Regions from separate parts of the Homo sapiens genome. Here regions 2, 3 and 4 are each linked to region 1. Evidence: promoter capture Hi-C in human tissues and cell types (Jung and others, 2019). All regions are on one chromosome and are shown on one strand. Each heading gives the region's core, a stretch centred on a gene start or on the middle of the fragment in contact. The rest is flanking DNA. Distances are from core to core; before and after follow the strand shown.

Region 1 (3,514 bases), core at 664-3,163:
GCGGGGGGGGGGGCGGGGGCCGACGCAGGGGAAAGAGTTGCTCTCTACACCGAAAAGGGACTTTGACCTTCCATTGATCTCGAAATTCAAAAACGTTTCTTCACAGGTCAGATTGTAACAAACACTCGTTCCTAATTTATGAACTCGCCGTTTTGATTTTATTATTTAAGCATGCGCCAGCAATCGTGTTTCCTTAAGAAAGAACTGACCTATTTTTGGCTGGAGATAAACGATCATGTTAACAGATGTTAATCTTGTAATCTGTTTTTCCTGTAAGCACTTTACCTAGCCGGGTTTCAGACCTTAAAAATAACATCTTTTCCAAAAAGACCTGACGTCACAATTCACTCCCTGAAAAATCACACTCCCCCTCCAGTTTCTTCCCCTGCAATGATTTCAAAGACATTAAATCTTTTCCACTTTATAAATGCTGATCTGTTCTGCCTCTACTCCCACAGGCTCTTATTTGCATTTCAAATTCCACAGGTTACACCAGTCGCCTTTTCAAAAAATGTAAACCAACAATGCAGCAGCAAATGGCTTTTTGTGCATCTGGATTAAATAAAGCACAGAATGAATATATTTAAAAAGAGGGCTGCGCAAGTTGATCTTTGCACACCCGGAGACCCGGTGACTCTTTATCAGCGGAATGAGTAAGACACACACACAGCCCCCAGAGCTCCCGGTCTGCTGCGGGAAGCTTATTAACGCTGATAATAGATGAGGCTGACTTACAGACCCACATTTTTCGGGTAAAAGGCTGGTTCCCTCTGGTCCCTAATTGCGGGGGTCCACTGGCTTTCCTCACCACACACATAAACTGCTGCTTTTAAATACCCCACTCGGCTGCCATTTAACAAACTTATTCATACAAAGTTTCGTTAAAACTTGAGGCGGTTTAATCTAAATACTGATCGTAACTATTCAGTCTGTTAGTTCTCCCTGGAAATGGCAGCGGAGGCGCCTCCCCCCACCTCCCGCCCAACCACACACACCCCACCGCATTCTTCCTTCATACACCCGGGTTCATCTCGCCACCGAGGCCTCCCCCACCCGCACCCGGCGGGGCGCAGCTCCGAGGAGTCCCTGCCCACCCCTCTCCGAGTCGGTGCCAGACCCTCGCCCCCACCCCCACCCCCGCCCGAACTTCCCTTCCAGGACCTCTCACTTCTTTAACGTTAGGGTCACTTAGAAGCTCCCAGCAGACTGGCAAGCAGCCGGGGAGGGGGCCGTAAAAAACAAGGCCACCCCCACCTCCACGCAAACACGTCCCCTAGGCAGCAGCGCGCGGTGCCCACAGGCATCGATCCCATCCGCCAAACCCTTAATAATTGAAGCGGCTCCTCGGGCCCGCAGCCCCATCACCCACCTTCATTAGCCGGAGCGTTTTACTTTAAAGTAAGGCAATTTGCTCTTTGTCTCCTAATGGATGGAGAGCGCATCCGAGCTCCCCTCCTCCCGCGTCGCCTTTGACAAAGTGTACAAAGCCAGAGCCTCTTCCGCGCTCCCACCCCGGCCCCCACCCCGCCCCTCCACTGCGGTAAAAACCACCTCCCGGGCGCTCGCCCCGCCGCCCGAAGTTGCATCTTCCCCTATCCTGGAATTGACGAGCAGAGCAACTACCCACCGGGAAAGCCAAGTAGCCCTCCCCGCGCCCGGGGGGCCCCTCCCCGGCGCACCCCCCTCCCCAGCGCCTCCCCCCCTACCCCCAGCGGCGCACACCAGAGTACGGGGCACGTCGGGGCTCCGGGCCCCGCGCCCACCGCCCGCCCGCGGCCCCTGCGGCGCAGCCCTCCCCCCGCCCGCGGCCCCTACCTTGGCAGGGAGGCGGCGGGCCTGGGGAGGAGGACGCGCACGCCCCGCGCATCTGAAGGTGAAGCCGAGCGCCCGCGGCGCGGAGCCGAGCGCTGCACTAGACCGACCGCGCCAGCTGCGCCCGGGCGCGGGGGACGCGCGAGGGCGCGCGGGGCCCGCCACGCGCCCGGCCCCCTCCTCGCGCCGCCCGCGCGCGCCCCGGACGCGTCCGCCCCGCGGGGGCCCCGGCGCGAGCCGGGCTCGGGGGGCTGCGCGGCACGGGGAGGGGGCCGGGCGCTCACGGCCCGGCGCAGGCCGGAGGCTTCCCCCAGCCTGGAAATGGTCTGCCCTGTAGGAAACGCACACTCCACTATTGTCTCATCAGCACAAAGTTCTGCCACACTGAGGGGACAGTCTGGAGGCTTGCAGTGACTCAGACACAGCCAATTCCTCCCCTAATAGCACTGAATCACGGTTCCAGCGGCCAGTGGTCGCCCCTCGTCAAGGTCTAAGGCTGCTGCAGCCCCGGCTCCCGGAGGCCGTTTCCGCGCGCACACGCGCATCCATACGTACAGACGTGCTCGGGATGCGGGTCCCGCCGGCGGGTACCTGGGCACTGCGCCCCATCTGGACTGAAATGGGGACACCCCTTCGGGGGTCCCAGGTGCGTGTGCATTACACACGGCGTAGCGTGTGCGTGTCACTCAACTTCCTGGTAAATGCCTCTGGGGGTGTTCAGATGCAGGATCAATACATTAAGTCCTGAATCAAGGGTCACAGAGGTCCCGCTGGAAAGACTTCAAACAGCGGCTCTGCCACCCGGCCATTTAAAAATGAAGGGGTTGTTTACCGGTAGCCTCGAAAGTTCAACTCTTATTTTTCTGTTCTTAAAACTTCATTTCTTCACCTCACCTACTCCCCACGAGCAGTAGTTAGTTGTAATAAGTTGAGTCTGGGACTAGAAATCCTAATTTGACTCCAAAACGCTCTCCTGTTACAGGGCAGGGATGGCCGGGGTGGGGGAGGGGAGGGCGGGCGCGCGGGGGCGGGGGAGGGGCGGGTCGGAGCTAGCGAGGGCGAGCGCCCCTTCACGGCCGGTGACGTAGACCCGGGGAGCTGCGGCCTGCGGAGGGGTAACACTATCTTCTCCCACCAGGCTCCTGGCCGTATTGTTCTCCTTCTCCTCGTGATAACTCCGCAGTGGAGGTGGATTCCGTCCAAGACGCCCAACGTGGCTCCGCGTAGCAATCAGCGCTGCAATCCTGGCGGTTACCTCAGCGGCGGCGTCTCTCTCTGCGCCTCACACTCGCAGCCCGCGGCCCTCCCCAACTTAGGGCGTTTACAAAAGAAACTACTCCAGACGCGCTGCAAAGGGAGGCGCATGTGCCCGAAAGCTGGCGATCAGACGGGGGGGGCATTCTGCATGTGTGATGTTTCTGGGGGCGGTGGGGAGTGTGTGTCGGGGTCGGGGGGCGGGGGGGAGTCAGGCAGAAAGACAGGGACAACCTCCGCTATGAAGGATCCGCGAGTCCTCAAATGTAAGCTCCGTGTGACTAACGACCTGCACTGATTTGGAGAGCGGGCATGTTAAAGGTCACGGACAATTGTTGCTGGCTTCAGCATGAATGCCTAAGTGGGATGTATTCTTCAGCAATCACGTTTAAGTCTGATTCACCGAAAAGTATTGACGTGCCCACCATTCATTTCAGTACACTGTGAA
Region 2 (3,514 bases), core at 734-3,233, 480 kb after region 1:
TCTCCTGAGCTAAACCAGCACCTGCTCTGCTCACTTCTTGACTGGCTGCTCATCATCAGCCCTCTGCAGAGATTTCATTTCCTCCGTGCCAGGTACTTCACGCACCAAGCTCAGAGGCTGCCCTATCAATTTCATACGCGTTCCCTGCCCCTACAGACGGGCAGGCCAGCTCTGAATGGCAGGGTGTGGCTGGCAGTTGGAAGCGTGATCACTACGGCTTTCTATGTTCAGTTCCACAGACCCTCACGGCCCCTCTAGCCTCTACTGACTGTGGTCCTGACAGCCTGCGCAGGCCATGGGGAAGGTCCTGACAGGCTGCGCGGGTGGTGGGGAAGGGCATCTGCGTCCATGAGGCTGGGGCTCCAGCAGCCCCTCCTCTTGGCTCTCAGCCTGGTAAGTTAATTTCCAGTCACCTTCAGGAGAAAGTAGGCGGGCCTCTTCAGGCAAGCGTTCAGTGAGCACACAAGCTCCCTGGCTCAGTTCCTATCTTGCTGTGTTTTATTTTAAAATACTCACCCAAGTATTGTACTGTCATGGTGAATGCTAGCTTATGATGTACCCTTGGTTTGCCTTTTAATGCATTTTCCACATATGTTACATTTAGACTTGCCAATGAAAAGAATACAATTTTTAAAATGTAATTATCTTTGCATGATTTTCCAAATTCCTCAGTTGGAAGGGGTCTGGGCAGAGAAGTGTAGCCAGTGAACGTGGGCTTTCTGTCTGCCACGCCTGCCAGGCGAGCTCAGGTGGCCATGCCTCCAGCCTCGGCAGTTTTTCCTGCTATTGCAATGAATGCAATCATATTCTCAAGCTTCTCACCCTGCTTATCATGCTGGAGTCTGAGGCTCTCTGACCCCCGGGAAACAGGAGCATGTAATCCTACCCTCATTCAGCATGGAAGTTCCCCTTCATAAAGGTCACAGATGCAAAGCATTTCTCACAGCTGCTGCTGAGACACGGAGGGGAACTGGTGATTCCATTAAAAGCAAAACAAAGGCTGGGTGCGGTGGCTCACGCCTGTAATCCTAGCACGTTGGGAGGCTGAGGTGGGCAGATCTGCTTGAGGTCAGGATGGGACCAGCCTGGGCAACATGGCGAGATCCCGTCTCTACAAAAAATACAAAAATTTTAGCTGGGTGTGGTGGCGTGTACCTGTAGTCCCAGCTATGTGGAAGGCTTTGGCAGGAGGATAGCTTGAGCCTGGGAGGTTAAGGCTGCAGTGAGCCAAGATTGCAGCACTGCACTCCAACCTGGGTGGCAAAGTAAGATCCTGTCTCAAAAGAAAAAGAAAAAACAAAAGAGACTTTCGTCTATCTTTTTGAAGAAAAATTCTTGTAACCAAAGGTAACTATAAGTAAAACATTGCTTCACGCTCTTTCATGCTTTCAGAGAAAAAGGTGGCAAGGGGAACACGTCCAAGACTCCTGGGTTCACATCTGCAGGGTGTGTACACTAGCCACACAGCAGAACACAGACAGACTTGGAAGCTTGTCTTCAGAGACACTAAATATTTTTTTCCTGGTGAGAGAATCAGTGCCCTAACAACTACCTCTGTTCCACTTTCTTCAGTAGCCATCGACCCTCTGATGAGGATGCCCCCTCCAACAGGCACCGCCAGGCAGCCCTGCCTGGAGACCCAGAGGCACCGAGTCACATTTGCTCTGCACACCTGGCTCTCGCTTGATGTGGGCCTGTGTGCTACAGCCCGGAACACAAAAGAAGACACCCATGCAAATACCATTAAAAGTTTATTGTTTTATTTCAATATTCAGGAACAGTGTACACTTTCCGTTCAGCCATCGTCACAGCACGTGCTGTGTGGGTGCGGCCACGTATGGATCGCAGAGCCGACCTCAGCTCAGCGACGCAGAGTGCTTCTGCTGAAAAATTTGGAGGTTTGTGTCTGGAGTTTTGTTCTTTGTAACTCTCTCATCATCGAGGCTATATATTAATAGACATGGTATTAAGCCCACACGAAACATTCAGAATTAGAATTGGATTAAGAAGACGCGTTTTGGCATCACGCTGACTACTCCTCATCTCCGTCCTCGGGGAGGGTGATGCCAGCGTGGGACTCTTTGGAAGGCCTATCAATCACAGGTGCGCTAAAATCAAAAGGTGGGTCAGTAGGTTAGGGAGGGAGGCGCGAAAGGAGATGCCAGCGGGTGTTAAGAAGGATATGGTCAGAAGAGCTCTTTGTCTCCATCCACGGGGCCGTCTGCTCAGCCCGTGTGTCTCGGTGAGTAATTCGGGAGCAGGTGCACGCCTGTGCCTACTCGCTACCACGCGTCTTCTGGGAGGAAGTGAATGAGCCGGTTATCTTCTCAGGGAGGGTTAGTGCTGGCCACTGTGCACTGCCGCTGCCAGCACGCCCGGTCACAGCCAGTGTCTATGGGCGACTGGCGCGGCTGCGAGGCTGTCTAGAGGACTCCTACCCTTCTGCTCTGAGTGCGCAAGTCTTCCTGGACTCTCCGGCTGTGGGCTGTGGTTTGGAAACGAGGTTGTTCATAGAGGCTGCTCTGGGGCCACCATGCAGGGCAACGGTGACGTCCAGAGGCCACCTGCTTGACATCTCCATCACCAAATCTCCAGGAAGACCCTGTTTCCTATGTGAGGCCATTGCCCAGCCCACGTTTGCCTCCTTTTCCTCCCTCTGCCACACGCGAATTCAGCTAATTGGGGTGTGTGGGCAGCCACGGCCTGGGGAGGTGGCCCCCTCTCTGTGCTGCCCCACGTTGGACTCTAACAGCTGCCCAGCCCGCATGTCACATACCAAAAGCTCCCACATGTAGTAAGCCACTCCTTGACTGTCTAATCCTGTTAGGAAAAATGAAGTCTACTTTAGGAGGTGAGAGAAGGACAGGAAAAAAAAACAAAGGAAGCTTGGATGTCAACAGTCCTCTCTGCCGCCCACGTCCTCTCTGTCTCTGCAGCTGTGTGCCTCCATGGCAGTGACCAGCAAAAGCGCAAGGGTGCCGCAGCCACGGCGAAAAGAAAGTCCAAGGGTGGAGGGGTGAACGTGGAGGGACGTCTGTGCACCTGGCCCCCTGAAGACCCACGTGCGTCTGGGGGCACATTGCGGGGGAAGGAACGTGATCTTCACACAGAAAGGGACAGTTTTAACCGTTTTCTGTTTTCATGTTCTCATTTAACTGTTGGCCGGAAATTGCCGGTAGGCTGCCGTGGCCTGACCCTACTACGTGCACAACTCCGCAGGCATTAGGGGAGGGGTCATCTGCTCTAATTAGGTAACAGGGGCAAGTGGGATTAAAGTTTTAAGGCAGTTATATTAAGAAGCTGAGGACAGGATTCCGGAACCAGGTGGGTTTTCAGCGTCTAGCCATGGGTGATCCAGAGCGACTATCTCTTCCTCCCTGAAAAGGAAGAGAGAGGAGTTAGGACGAGAGTGCCGCAGGGTCCTCCCACACCAGCATCCCCTCTTCTGTGGTCCCGGGTGGATGCTGAGCCATTGGGTGTCTCTCTCATCTGCTAATAGAAATGGCACCCCGGA
Region 3 (3,514 bases), core at 353-2,852, 460 kb after region 1:
CCTATATTTTATGTGACTAGTAAATGAAACTACTTTGCTATTTTTTAACATTATGATTTTAGCATTTGGTTTAATATAGGTAGAAGAATAATGTTTGTAGAGTAATCCTATGTTAAGATTAGTTTGAAATGTCTCCACTGAAGTGATATATTCCGTTTTAACTTCCATATTCCATTAGATGGAAATGAGAGAAACCAAATATTAAAACTTGGTCTAGCTTGTAATTTTTTTCAAAATTTGACAGATTAAATATAAAAATGAGGTAGATAACCAATCTGTATGAGTGAATACAGGCATACCTCAGAGATAACATGCATTCAGTTCTAGAGCACTGCAATAAAGCGATTATCACAACAAAGTCATACATTAACATTATGATTTAGTTTTCTGGTTTCCCAGGGCATATGATGTTTATACTATACTGTAATAATAGTGTTCAGCAGCATTATTTCTCTTTTTTTTTTTTTTTGAGACAGAGTCTTGCTCTGTTGCCCAGGCTAGAGTGCAGTGGTGCAATCTCAGCTCACTGCAACCTCCGCCTCCTGGGTTCAAGTGATTCTCCTGCCTCAGCCTCCCAAGTAGCTGGAATCACAGGTGTGCACCACCACACCTGGCTAATTTTTGTATTTTTAGTAGAGATGGGATTTTGCCATGTTGCCAGGCTGGTCTCAAACTCCTGAGCTCAAGTGATCGCCCACCTCAGCCTCCCACAGTGCTGGGATTACAGGCATGAGCCACTGTGCCTGACCAGCATTACGTTTTTTTTTTAAATGTACATACCTTAATTTAAAAATACCTTATTGCTAAAAATGCTAACGATCACCTGAGCCTTCAGTGAGTTGTAATCTTTTTGCTGGTTGAGGGTCTTGCCTTGATGTTGATGGCTGCTGACTGATCAAGGTGGTGGTTGTTGAAGTTTGGGGTGGCCGTGACGATTTCTTAAAATAAGACAACAGTGAAGTTTGCTGCGTTGATTCTTCCTTTCATGAAAGATTTCCCCATAGCATGCAATGATGTTTGATAGCATTTTACGCAAAGTAGAACCTCTTTCAAAATTGGAGTCCATCTCTCAAAGCCCACTGCTGCTTTACTAAGTTTCTGTAATCTTTTAAATCTTTTGTTGTAATTTCAACAATGTTCACCGCATCATCACCAGGAGTAGATTCCGTCTCAAGTAACTGCTTTCTTTGCTCATCCATAAGAAGCAACTCCTTGTCTGCTCAAGTTATATATACCTTTAGATCCCTATCTGCTCAGTTATATATACCATGAGATCCTTATCTGCTCAGTTATATATACCATGAGATCCTTATCTGCTGAGTTATATATACCATGAGATTGCAGCAATTCAGTCATCTTCAGGCTCCATTTCTAATTCTGTTGCCCATTCCTCCACATCTGTAGTTACTTCTTCTGCTGAAGTCTTGAACCTCTCAAAGTCATCCATGAGGGCTGGAATCAACTTCTTCCAAACTCCTGTTAATGTTGATATTTTGACTTCCTCCCATGAATCACAAATGTTCTTAATGGCATATAGAGTGGTGAATCCTTTCCACAGATTTTCACTTTACTTTGCCCAGATCCATCATAGGAATCACTATCTATGTCGGCTACAGCCTTATGAGATGTATTTCTTAGTAAGACTTGAAAGTTGAAATTACTCCTTCATCCATGGGCTACAGTGTGGATGTCATGTTAGCAGACATGAAAGCAACATTCATCTCTTTGTACATCTCCATCACAGCTCTTGGGTGACCAGGTGCATTGTCAATGAGCAGGAATATTTTGAAAGGAATCATTTTTTCTGACCAGTAGGTCTCAGCAGTGGGCTTAAAATATTCAGCAAATCATGCTGTAAACAGACGTGCTGTCATTCAGGCTTTATTGTTTCATTTGTAGAGCACAGAAAGAATGGATTTAGCATCATTCTTAAGGGCCTTAGGATTTTTGGAATGGTAAATGAGCATTGGCTTCAACTTAAAGTCACTAGCTGCACTAGCCCCTCACAAGAGAGTCAGCCTGTCCTTTGAAGCCAGACACTGACTTTTCTGTAGCTATGAAAGTCCTAGAGCCATCTTCTTCCACTATAAAGCTGTTCTGTTTACACTGAAAATCTGTTGTTTAATGGAGTGACCTTCATCGATGCTCTTGGCTAGATGTTCTGGAGAACTTGCTGCAGCTTCTCCAGCAACACTTGCTGCTTCACCTTGCACTGCTATGTTATGGAGGGTGGCTTCTTTCCTTAGTTCTCATGGATTGACCTCTGCTAGTTTCCAGCTTTTCTTCTGCAGCTCCCTCACCTCTCGGCCTTCATAACATGGAAGAGAGTTAGAGTCTTGCTCTGGATTAGGCTTTGGCTTAAGCGAGGATTGTGGCTGTTTTGATCTGTCTAGGCCATTAAAACTTTCTGCTTATCAGCAACAGTGCAGTTTCACTTTCTTATCATTCATGGGCTCACTGGATAACACTTTTAATTTCCTTCAAGAACCTTTCCTTCATTTCACAAGTTGGCTAATAGTTTGACACAAGAGGCTGAGCTTTCAGCCTGTCTCAGCTCTCTGCGTGCCTTCCTCATTAAGCTTAATCATTTCTAGGTTTTGAAGTGAGGGATGTGTGACTCTTCGTTTCACTTGAACACTTACAGGCATTGTGGGATCATTAATTGGCCTCATTTTAGTATTGTTGTGTCTCAGAGAATAGGGAGGCCCAAGGAGAGGTGGGATGGCCAGTTGGTGAAGCAGTCAGACACAAACATTTATAGGTTAAGTTTGCCATTTTATGTGGGTGGGGTTTGTGGTGCCTCAACACAATTACAATAGTAACATCAAAGATCGCTAATCACAGATCACTGTAATAGATACGCTGTAATGAAAAAGTTTGAAATATTGCGAGAATTACCAAAATGTGACACACACACGAACTGAGCATGTGCCGTTGGAAAAATGGCACCAGTAGACTTGCTCGAAGCAGCCTCGCCACAAACTTTCAATTTGTAAAAACGACAGGATATCTATGGAGGACAAAAAAAGCAAAGTTCAATGAAAACAAGGTATGCCTATAATTAGTAAGAGAAATTCTCTTAGATGTTTTCTGTAAATTTCCCTTGTTAGGTTGTAGCACTGTTTGCCAACATTAATTGGTTTTAATCATGGTCTAATTTCATCCTAATGCTTTCTTGTCACAGATGGAATGCACATTGACGCTTCCAGGCTCTGACCTGGGCTCTGACCAGGGACTTGAGACACATGCCTGGGTCTGCCTCTGGCCTGTGCTTCTGGGAGGAAGCTGGGACCATTTGAAGCACCCTGGGTTTATCTGAACCCACGACAGAGTGGCTGGGAGTGCTGGCTGTAGCCTCTGGTGATGTCTGTGCATCCCTGCTCCCATGCTTTCTGGCCAGGAGCCCTCAGGCAATCCTACATCTGTGTGATGGCCTGTTTTTAAGACAGAGGTGGCCAGGCACAGTAGCTCACACCTGTAATCCCAGCATTTTGGGAGGCTGAGGCAGGAGGAC
Region 4 (3,514 bases), core at 723-3,222, 430 kb after region 1:
ATAAATATAAATCAACTACTCCAATCAAGGTTCAGAATAATGCAGTGGTTTAGAAACACTGTAAACCTCAAAGGCTTGTGAAAATGCTAAATTCAAATTGTAAACAATACACTGTTAAATTTACAATACTGCAGCAATTGCCTGTGACGTCCGTAACATCTTATAGGTGAAAGGGATTCTCATTAAAGTACTTCCATCCACTGATTCAACATATTTACATCCATAGTGACAGCTGAGTGGGGTGGGGGTGAGTGTCGCGACTGCCATCGCCTCTGTTGATTCTTGGCTGGGCTTTTCACAGGTCAGAAGCTCTTCAGCTGTCACGTCTGCAGCAACGCCTTCTCCACGAAGGGAAGTCTGAAGGTCCACATGCGCCTGCACACGGGAGCCAAGCCCTTCAAATGCCCGCATTGCGAGCTGCGTTTCCGTACCTCGGGTAGAAGAAAGACACACATGCAGTTTCATTATAAACCAGACCCAAAGAAGGCCAGAAAGCCTATGACTCGAAGCTCATCGGAAGGACTGCAGCCTGTAAACCTCCTCAACTCCTCCTCTACTGACCCAAACGTGTTTATCATGAACAACTCTGTTCTAACAGGACAGTTTGATCAGAATCTGCTGCAACCAGGACTGGTGGGCCAAGCTATTCTCCCTGCCTCTGTGTCAGGTAAACGCTGAGCCGAGGGAATGAGAGCAGCACAGTGATTGAACTGTTCTGTGCTGCTTCTGTCTGTTCCCACGACAGAAGAGATGTTGTTTACCGTAGCACCACGTTTCCCTTCTTTGAGCCTTTTCCTTATAAGGCATTCGGAAAAATTGGAATTCCGTCTTGCAGACATTGCTCCTTTCCATTTCGCATTCTGTCTTCCATGCCAGCTGCTTTTTTACACTAAGCACTTTGTTTAGCTTTTGTTTTTAGTGGGTGTAAACCTGTTTTTACTCAGTTGGCATTCTCATAAATTTAGTAGTGAGAAGTGTAATTTATAAATACTCAATAGCATTGTTTTTGATATAGTGCAGTTTTCCAGTTGTTCTTGCGTCTCATAGTGCTTGAGAAGTGTTACATTTTAGCTAGTTGTGTTGATTTGTGTGCCTGTGAGTAAATGCAGCCGTTGTACATGGCAGTCAGATGTCCTGTGTGCCCTTCTTTCTGTTTCTGTGACTCGTGGCAGGATTGCAGCCTGACCACCACTCAGTAGTAGTGGTTGTTTTGAACCTTTGGCTAATCAGTAGAATCTTTTTGAGCTACTTTTCTGATACGTTTAAAGTGGGCAATATGAGTATCCATTTCACAGAGTTCTGGGGTGATTAGACAGTGTGTGTGTATGGTATAAAGTGTATCTGTTTCACAGAGTTGCTCTGCGGTGATTAGACTGTATGTGGATATAGTAAAAAGTAGGTTTCTGAGGTGATGAGACAGTGTATGTGTATATGGTATAAATGAGATTTCGCGGGTGATTAGACAGTGTATGCGTATGGCATAAAGGAGTATCTGTTTTACAGAGTTGTTCTGGGGTGATTAGACAGTGTATTTGTGTATGGTATAAAGTAGGTTTCTGGGGTGATTAGACATTGTGTGTATATATGGTATAATGGGTGATTAGACAGTATATGTGCGTATATGGTAGAAAGTAGGTTTCTGGGGTAATTAGACTGTGTGTGTATATATGGTATAAAGGGTGATTAGACAGTGTGTATGATTAGACAGTGTGTGTATATATGGTATAAAGGGTGATTAGACAGTGTGTGTATATATGGTATAAAGGGTGATTAGACTGTGTGTGTATATATGGTATAAAGAGTGATTAGACTGTGTGTATGGTATAAAGGGTGATTAGACCATGTGTGTGTATGGTATAAAGGGTGATTAGACAGTGTGTGTGTATGGTATAAAGGGTGATTAGACAGTGTGTGTGTATATGGTATAAATAAGGGGTGATTAGACAGTGTGTGTATATGGTATAAAGGGTGATTAAACAGCATATATGTGTATATGGTATAAAGTAGGTGTTCGTATTCCACAACAACATTGTATTGACATAATGTGTACAACTTATGTATTTAAAAATCCCTATGTAAAAAATGAATTACTTTAGTTTTAAGAAGCATTCATAATATTTGATCATTCTCTTTCTCTTTCTCTGGCCAGCTGGGGGTGACCTGACCGTGTCTCTGACAGATGGGAGCCTGGCTACCCTAGAAGGCATCCAGTTACAGTTGGCTGCTAACTTGGTTGGACCAAATGTACAGATTTCTGGAATCGATGCTGCCAGCATTAATAACATTACGTTGCAGGTATGACACCTTCCATGGTCTCCTGTGCTGTAATTCTCTTGGCATCACAGAGAAGCATGAAGTTTTCATTACAAGTACCTGTGCTGCTTTTCAGATTGATCCAAGCATTCTGCAGCAGACGCTACAGCAGGGCAACCTATTGGCTCAGCAGCTCACGGGGGAGCCTGGCCTGGCCCCACAGAACAGCTCTCTCCAGACATCGGACAGCACGGTCCCTGCCAGTGTTGTCATCCAGCCCATCTCAGGCCTGTCCTTACAGCCCACAGTGACCTCTGCGAACCTGACCATAGGCCCGCTGTCTGAGCAGGATTCAGTGCTGACCACTAACAGCAGTGGTAAGAGCCACTCACTTTTGCTTATTTTGACAGCTGGAGTTTCAGTTTCTTGCTTGTGATTACATATTTGAATTTAGGATGTTATGATGTCATTTTCTTCTCTTTGTAGAAGAGAATAAATCAAATGTCCTGAGAATAAAATAAGCTTTTCTTACAATTAATGATATGTATTTAATATATGCTCTTAGATTATTACTACCTTCATTTAATTACTCTTTTCATCCTGGCTTCATTTCCTCACAAGGCTTTCTTCTTAGACGAAGGAATTAGAGATGACTGATGCTTTGTTTTAAATCTTTGTCTTATTGAAATATGTAATAACAGTTTAATTAAAATATTTTTAATATAAAAACAGGGGAAATTGGTTATTTTGAATCTCAACTTTGTTTTGCTTTGTAATGACAATCAGGGACCCAAGACCTCACTCAAGTGATGACTTCGCAAGGTCTAGTGTCCCCCTCCGGCGGTCCCCACGAGATCACCCTGACCATTAACAACTCCAGCCTGAGCCAGGTCCTGGCACAGGCCGCTGGGCCCACTGCCACGTCTTCCTCGGGGTCTCCACAGGAAATTACCCTGACTATCTCCGGTTAGTAAGTTATAATTTTAAACATCTTTTCACCCTGCAATTTAAGTACTGTATATCTTACTATCTCTTTTCCTACAATACTCTGCTGTGCATAAAGCCCGTGCTCAATATGTATTTATAATTTATGGGAGAAATTGAAGTTTAGTGAAAATAATGTATTCTAATTCAGATCTGGCACCAGAAATGAAAAATTATAGTTTCTCATGTCACTTCCAGTTTGAGTACAGTCAGTTATTTAATTATTTCATTCATTGACTCATTTTTAGAGAATAAGTTATTTTTGTTTAGCAAACAG

What was found. The method cuts DNA at HindIII sites, captures the fragments that hold promoters and counts their contacts. A contact is called where the count stands out against the background at its distance.
Region 2: a fragment that was not itself captured here is called in contact with the fragment with the promoter of ZNF516 in region 1 in 1 of the 25 tissues and cell types used here (lymphoblastoid cells).
Region 3: a contact is called between a fragment that was not itself captured here and the fragment with the promoter of ZNF516 in region 1, in 1 of the 25 tissues and cell types used here (aorta).
Region 4: a fragment that was not itself captured here is called in contact with the fragment with the promoter of ZNF516 in region 1 in 1 of the 25 tissues and cell types used here (lymphoblastoid cells).

What each region holds. Positions count from the first base shown.
Region 1 is chr18:76,493,329-76,496,842 of GRCh38, forward strand. ZNF516 (zinc finger protein 516) reads right to left here and starts at 1,914. Exons shown (of 7, transcript NM_014643.4): 1 at 1,816-1,914. It overlaps ZNF516-DT (ZNF516 divergent transcript), which reads left to right and starts at 2,011. Exons shown (of 2, transcript NR_164145.1): 1 at 2,011-2,458; 2 at 2,951-3,514. ZNF516-AS1 (ZNF516 antisense RNA 1) reads left to right here. Exons shown (of 2, transcript NR_136504.1): 2 at 1-590. RefSeq lists silencers at 944-1,033, 1,734-1,833, 1,964-2,023. The HindIII fragment of the contact is 9,582 bases long and covers 1-3,514 here.
Region 2 is chr18:76,977,095-76,980,608 of GRCh38, forward strand. It overlaps MBP (myelin basic protein), which reads right to left. Exons shown (of 9, transcript NM_001025101.2): 9 at 1,739-3,377. The coding sequence ends at 3,333. It overlaps MBP-AS1 (MBP antisense RNA 1), which reads left to right and starts at 3,335. Exons shown (of 3, transcript XR_935667.3): 1 at 3,335-3,514. The HindIII fragment of the contact is 4,702 bases long and covers 1-3,514 here.
Region 3 is chr18:76,949,208-76,952,721 of GRCh38, forward strand. All of the region lies in intron 27 of ZNF236 (zinc finger protein 236), which reads left to right. Among named protein-coding and RNA genes, the nearest start is that of MBP-AS1, 29 kb to the right of the region's middle. The HindIII fragment of the contact is 4,351 bases long and covers 1-3,514 here.
Region 4 is chr18:76,924,888-76,928,401 of GRCh38, forward strand. It overlaps ZNF236 (zinc finger protein 236), which reads left to right. Exons shown (of 31, transcript NM_001306089.2): 22 at 302-667; 23 at 2,150-2,295; 24 at 2,390-2,630; 25 at 3,040-3,219. Among named protein-coding and RNA genes, the nearest start is that of MBP-AS1, 54 kb to the right of the region's middle. The HindIII fragment of the contact is 3,112 bases long and covers 417-3,514 here.